Regions from separate parts of the Homo sapiens genome. Here region 2 is linked to region 1. The links are contacts of gene promoters, found by promoter capture Hi-C in blood cells and fetal thymus (Javierre and others, 2016). All regions are on one chromosome and are shown on one strand. Each heading gives the region's core, a stretch centred on a gene start or on the middle of the fragment in contact. The rest is flanking DNA. Distances are from core to core; before and after follow the strand shown.

Region 1 (3,461 bases), core at 154-2,653:
GAATCATCAAGGAGATACACATAAGGAAAGTGCTAATGGAGATGAGAAGAAAAATCGATGCCATATTTTTAATATATACGATTTTTCTTGTATTATTTAATTGCTTTTCTTGACTATTCCTATTATGAAAAGTATCTTCAATAAAATAAGTTATTAATAACACATAAAATGGCTTATAGTATGTGTTTTCATATGCATTTATTTTAACAGTCCCGGGATCTTCAGTAAAAAACACTCTGAGTTAGGCTGTTTAGATTCAAATCCAGGTCCTCCTTCCCACCCCCAAATTACTGGCTGTGTGACTTACAGCGAACACTCTGTATCTGTTTCTTTACCTGTAAAAAAAATTTTTTAAAAAAAGTATCCACTTAAATTGGTTTGAAGATTACATAAAGCACATGACATATAGCAAGTATCGAATAAGCAGCAACTATTACTACTATCAGCTTTTTCTTCACTAAGACTATGGCTTATTAAACAGCGCATTTTATGTCTTACTCGCCTTTTAATCCCTAAAGCTTACTGAATAAACAAGATGTGCCAAGCGCTGCAGAAGTTTTGGGGTTTTGTTATTTGGTGACTTTTTACTGGCCGGGGTCTTCTTTTTGAAAAATCCAACTTCGGACGCCCACTTGTGCCAGGGAAGGACAGCATTGTCCTCTAGCTCCATAAATACACTTTCAGCTTCTTACATGACATACTGTATTCTGAGCGCTTTTCACATAACTCACGCCGCCCCAACCTCTTCCCGGCTGCAGGCCTTGGCCTGAGTCAGGAACAGGGCAAGGCAGTCTGACGAGGGCCCAGTTTCTGGACAAAAGAGGAACAGAACTTTCAGGATGGGAGAACTATGAATGAGAACGCCTGCGCCTCCCTCCATCCTCGCAATAAATCCTGGAAAGGCAGTTTTTCGCCCCTTAAGTGGCCTGAACTAAGCACCCCCAGACCTTTCTCCGTAGTCCACCCAATTACCAAGCCCCATCGCAGACAGACACGGTCCCTAAGTCAAGTTTGTCCAATCAGAGGCCGCTCTAGAACCAGAAGATCCGCTCAGTCCCACCCGAGGCTGCTCCTCCTTTCCAAGTGACAGATTAGAAGCAAATTAAATCGCAGGCAAACCCGAGTGACGGAAGACATAACCAATCAGTAAGGAAGGAAAATAGCTCCAGCCTTCCGGTGGCAGTGACTAGCATGAACGCCGCGCCCCCCCCACCCCACATACTCGCTATAGGGCGACTCTGTTACCTCGTGAGACACACATTCCAGCGACCGCAGTTCGCTACAATAGCGGCAGAAGTAGAGTTGCGAGAGCGGGGCCCGAACCTTCTTTTCTCCCTGGACTAGATAGAGAACCCGGTCCGACTGCAGCAAGGACGCCATCTTGGGGAGGGAGGAGGCGATGACGCTCCCGGCGCATCACGTGACCCGAGAGCCAGCGTCTTCCTCGCTGCCTTCCCTACGACTTCCTACGTAGACTTTGACGTTAGGTTTCCCACCTCGTCCGGCTCTGCGCCCGTCGAAAACCAGAGCGCGCGTGCGCAGCTGGGATCCCTGTTTTCTCCCCAACTCTGGGCCCGTCCCCCAGCGCTTTTGTGAGCGTCCACTGCCCTTACTGCCATTAGGTCTGGACTCAGTGAGCTCCTTTTATTCTTTTCTTCCAGAATGGAAGCCTGATCTTTTGTCTTATTTACGACGGCCTCCTCTGCCCCACTTAACAGGCGAGCATCCAGGAGACAAATGGAAGGTCTCAAAGGGACAGGGCTCCGTGGGGACTGCAAGACAGGAGTCACACCAGCACTGTCTTCTGAGTCTTGCCAATGGCCTTTGGGAACTTTCACATACATTATCTCATTTGAAACGCAGGTTTTTGAGTACATAGTTAGCGTTAGGTCTAAGTCTGTATTGTGGACCTTCAATAAGTATGAAAAGGAGGGAATGAAATCAATGAATGAACAATGTTGGTAGGCGTCTACGTTTTTCTAATGTGTAAACTAAGGCTCAGGTCTGCCTCTTGGGTGAGCAGCGACTACGTGAGACTGGTATTACATGGGTGGGAAAATAATTTATCAACAGTTTTAGGTAAAGAAATGCAGATTTATTAGAGAAGGTATGAAAATACGTTGAAAGGTTGCAATGGGCAGACCAGCCAGAGAGGAGCTGACTTCAAGGAAACAAAGGCTTGCTGGAGATTTTATCCGATGGTTCTTGGGCTGCAGAGTGCTGTGCAGTACCGAGAACTCCAAGGTTACAGGGAGCTAACTTGCATGTGTCTCGTGATAGCTGAGTGCAGGAAGATTGTGAGTTATTTGCACAGGAGGGCTACGTGTCCTGCACCATGAAGAAAGGCAGACTTAGAGTGCATCTGCTCTTCTTGCTATCCCTTGGTCCCACTAGCCTGACTCCCTTTCTCTAACTGGGACTCCCCAGTATGTAAAATGACCACCTAGAACTGCCTAGCAGAAACTGGAGCCTCTGTTGCCTGCCACCAGGTCTACATTTTTATAATTGTAGTAGTGTTGTATTATTACCTGTCTGACGTTAGAGTTGGTGATTGAGAAGAAAGGGAACTGAATACTATTAGCAAACATTTATTGAGCACTTATTAAGTGCAGCACACTGTGTCAAAACTTTACATACATTGTCTAATTTAATTCTTACAACAGCTCCAAAAAGCATGTGGCTATCATTATTTCTATTTTACAGAGCAGGAAACTGAGGCACAGGGAAGTGCAGTGACTCCTCTATAAGGTTTCATAGATGGAGGTAGAACCCTTTTCTCTCTGACTCTAGTGCTTGCAGGTATAACCCCTATGTATACTCCCTCCAGCATATTTTCTAATATGGTGATGTTAATAATACCTTACATTTATATAGACCTTTTCAGCTTATACAGTGCTAATCTCACAATTTATGTCACGCTTTACCAATTGAGCCTAAAAGTCATTACTTGTTCACCAAGCAATAGCCTGGCACTAATTTAGTTTCATAGGTGACATCTGCTCCTAGGAGAGAATATATTACTAGCCAACTCATTTGCAATTATTTCTTTAGGTTAATGAATTCGTTGGTTTTCTGGTTTATAAACTAGTCTCTACTGAGTTTAAATTCCCTTTTCTGGACTATGCTGTTAAAATGAAGTCCCAGAGCCTGCAGGTACAGAAAGGCTGGAGACTTGAGCTGAATCCACATAAAACAGACACTTTTTAGAGCACTGATTTTAAATAATTAAGTGGCCAATTATCTTGTCCCTGCTACATGCCAGGTACTGGGGAGGGAACTAGCGATAAATGAGATACTTTCCATCCTCAAAGGCTCAGGGTTCTAGCAGGATCGAGTCCTAGTTATGCACAATGGTGACCAGCTTGATAATGTAGCCTTGTGTTGCTTTTTCACTCTACCCAGCCCTGGACTCACCCTCATTCACTTCTCAATCCTGGCTTCCTGCCTGCAGAATCTCATTT
Region 2 (3,427 bases), core at 195-2,694, 100 kb before region 1:
TCCCCGCCGAGGCCTCCTGCACCACCTAGAGCCCCACCCCCGACCCCACCCCGGGAGGGCAGAGCCAGAAGAAGGCTCATTAGACCTGGGGGACCCAAAGGGTCTGGCCTCTTTGGGCAGCCCCAGAGATGAGGGGTCAGCAGAGGAGAGCTCTGGGGTTGGGGATGGGTTAGGGACGCAAGCTTGAGTTCTAGCCCTTGCTCTCATTCAGCTGTTGTGTGACCCTGGGTAAGACCCTTCCTTGTTTGACCCTCAGCTTTCCCATCTGTTTAATGGTGGCTTTGGCCAAGGCAATCCACAAACGTCAAAATTCCCCTTCCCATCAGTACACACACCGATGCACACACACTCTCTCTTTCTCTCTCTCTCTCTCTCACACACACACACACACACACACACACACACACACACACACACACTAGTTAGTGCCTTGGATGAGGCGGGGCAGTGTGTATATGGACCCCTGGACTTGCTACCTTCAGGGTTCCATACTCGTCCCTCCCCTCCTGGCTCTGCTGTCTGGAGTCTGGCAAGCGGGGTGTGTTCAGAAGGTCCTAGGCCTGTGTCGCATGTCCAGGCACTGGCCTGACCATCCGGCTCCCTGGCACCAAGTCCCAGGCAGGAGCAGCTGTTTTCCATCCCTTCCCAGACAAGCTCTATTTTTATCACAATGACCTTTAGAGAGGTCTCCCAGGCCAGCTCAAGGTGTCCCACTATCCCCTCTGGAGGGAAGAGGCAGGAAAATTCTCCCCGGGTCCCTGTCATGCTACTTTCTCCATCCCAGTTCAGACTGTCCAGGACATCTTATCTGCAGCCATAAGAGAATTATAAGGCAGTGATTTCCCTTAGGCCCAGGACTTGGGCCTCCAGCTCATCTGTTCCTTCTGGGCCCATTCATGGCAGGTTCTGGGCTCAAAGCTGAACTGGGGAGAGAAGAGATACAGAGCTACCATGTGACTTTACCTGATTGCCCTCAGTTTGGGGTTGCTTATTGGGAAAGAGAGAGACAAAGAGTTACTTGTTACGGGAAATATGAAAAGCATGGCCAGGATGCATAGAGGAGATTCTAGCAGGGGACAGGATTGGCTCAGATGACCCCTGAGGGCTCTTCCAGTCTTGAAATGCATTCCATGATATTAGGAAGTCGGGGGTGGGTGGTGGTGGTGGGCTAGTTGGGCTTGAATTTAGGGGCCGATGAGCTTGGGTACGTGAGCAGGGTGTTAAGTTAGGGTCTGCCTGTATTTCTGGTCCCCTTGGAAATGTCCCCTTCTTCAGTGTCAGACCTCAGTCCCAGTGTCCATATCGTGCCCAGAAAAGTAGACATTATCCTGCCCCATCCCTTCCCCAGTGCACTCTGACCTAGCTAGTGCCTGGTGCCCAGTGACCTGGGGGAGCCTGGCTGCAGGCCCTCACTGGTTCCCTAAACCTTGGTGGCTGTGATTCAGGTCCCCAGGGGGGACTCAGGGAGGAATATGGCTGAGTTCTGTAGTTTCCAGAGTTGGCTGGTAGAGCCTTCTAGAGGTTCAGAATATTAGCTTCAGGATCAGCTGGGGGTATGGAATTGGCTGAGGATCAAACGTATGTAGGTGAAAGGATACCAGGATGTTGCTAAAGGTGAGGGACAGTTTGGGTTTGGGACTTACCGGGGTGATGTTAGATCTGGAACCCCCAAGTGAGGCTGGAGGGAGTTAAGGTCAGTATGGAAGATAGGGTTGGGACAGGGTGCTTTGGAATGAAAGAGTGACCTTAGAGGGCTCCTTGGGCCTCAGGAATGCTCCTGCTGCTGTGAAGATGAGAAGGTGCTCTTACTCAGTTAATGATGAGTGACTATATTTACCAAAGCCCCTACCTGCTGCTGGGTCCCTTGTAGCACAGGAGACTGGGGCTAAGGGCCCCTCCCAGGGAAGGGACACCATCAGGCCTCTGGCTGAGGCAGTAGCATAGAGGATCCATTTCTACCTGCATTTCCCAGAGGACTAGCAGGAGGCAGCCTTGAGAAACCGGCAGTTCCCAAGCCAGCGCCTGGCTGTTCTCTCATTGTCACTGCCCTCTCCCCAACCTCTCCTCTAACCCACTAGAGATTGCCTGTGTCCTGCCTCTTGCCTCTTGTAGAATGCAGCTCTGGCCCTCAATAAATGCTTCCTGCATTCTTCTGCCTCCTGTGTCATTTTCAGCTGTGTCTGATGTCCTTCCCTTCTCCCCAAGCATGGAGCAGTCCATGGGACTCTGGGTGGCTGGGAATATTTGAGACATATGGGATGGGAGCTTGGGAAGAAGCAGCCATGGGGAGAGATGGGAACAACGGACAACTTGAGGCCATAGAAGTACCTGGACTGCAGTCCTGGTCCTGTCATGGACGAGCGGGGTGACCCTGGGTGAGCCCACTCCTTCTCTAGGCCTCAGCTTCCCCATCCGTATAATGGGGAGAGTGGGTCTAGGTAATGTCTCAGGGTGGTATTGTCCAGGCCCTGACCACAGAGCACTATCACCAGAGTGGGCAGGGCCAAGCTGGGTCAGGGCTCTGTGCTCTGAGGCTGTTTCCTCATGGCAGGTGGGGGTGCCAGGGCAGGAAAGGCGCCACTGTAAGAGGTCCCGTCTGAGCCAGGCAGCCCCAGTGAGGCAAGGACTCGGGCCATGAGGCATCCTCTCCTGGCAGGAGTGTCCTTTGGCCAGAGAAGGGGATTGTGATCCTGCTCCCAGGTGAGGCTAAGCTTGCCCTGGGAACACACCTCACTCTTCCTCTCTAGAAGCTCAGGCCCACCGAGGGCCAGGAAGCTAAGGTCAGGGTGGTGGACAGCAGAATCTAGGCTTCTGATTTGAGAGGTGTCAGAAATACACCCCAGGATAGTCTGCCAGCACACAGACACCGGTGGTCCCCACCCTGCACCCAGCCCATCCTTGCTAGGCCCACCCTTCCCCAGGAGTGTGTGCCTTGGACCCAATCTTTATCTTCGGCTGGGGCCTCACTGCAGCACAGTGTCCCATTGCCTACTGGTGATCTCATCCCAGTCCCCCGACACCTCAAAGTTCATCCAAAACTGACCTCAGTGTCTGCCCCCACCCCTCCTGCTCCTCCCCTTCCAGTCACCCAAGCATGAAACAGGGGAGTGGGACTCCCTTTCCTCACCTTCCACATCCAGTTCCTCACCAAGACCCAAGGGTTCTTCAAATAACCCTCAACTCCCTCTCCTCTCCATCTCCTTGTCACTGCCCTGATCCAGCCACCCCTGGTGACAGTCAGGTCCTCCTGCCTCCAGTCTGGCCCCCTCCAACCCATTTCCCACATGGCAGCAAAGATATCTTTGGAAAATGCCAATCCGATCACTCCATTTCACCACTTTAATCTTGTCAGCAACCCTTTATAAACACAGTTTCCTTTTGAAAGCCTGCTGGGATCTGGCCGCTGCCCCCACTGTCTGGGCTAATC

What was found. The method cuts DNA at HindIII sites, captures the fragments that hold promoters and counts their contacts. A CHiCAGO score of 5 or more calls a contact.
Region 2: a contact is called between a fragment that was not itself captured here and the fragment with the promoter of DCTN4 in region 1, in 1 of 17 cell types (fetal thymus). The highest score is 5.2, in fetal thymus.

Annotation. Positions count from the first base shown.
Region 1 is chr5:150,757,614-150,761,074 of GRCh38, forward strand. DCTN4 (dynactin subunit 4) reads right to left here and starts at 1,404. Exons shown (of 13, transcript NM_016221.4): 1 at 1,246-1,404. The coding sequence starts at 1,380. RefSeq lists enhancers at 680-749, 1,180-1,479. The HindIII fragment of the contact is 18,997 bases long and covers 517-3,461 here.
Region 2 is chr5:150,657,059-150,660,485 of GRCh38, forward strand. It overlaps SYNPO (synaptopodin), which reads left to right. Exons shown (of 3, transcript NM_007286.6): 3 at 1-2,149. The coding sequence ends at 29. Among named protein-coding and RNA genes, the nearest start is that of MYOZ3, 2.5 kb to the right of the region's middle. The HindIII fragment of the contact is 2,529 bases long and covers 181-2,709 here.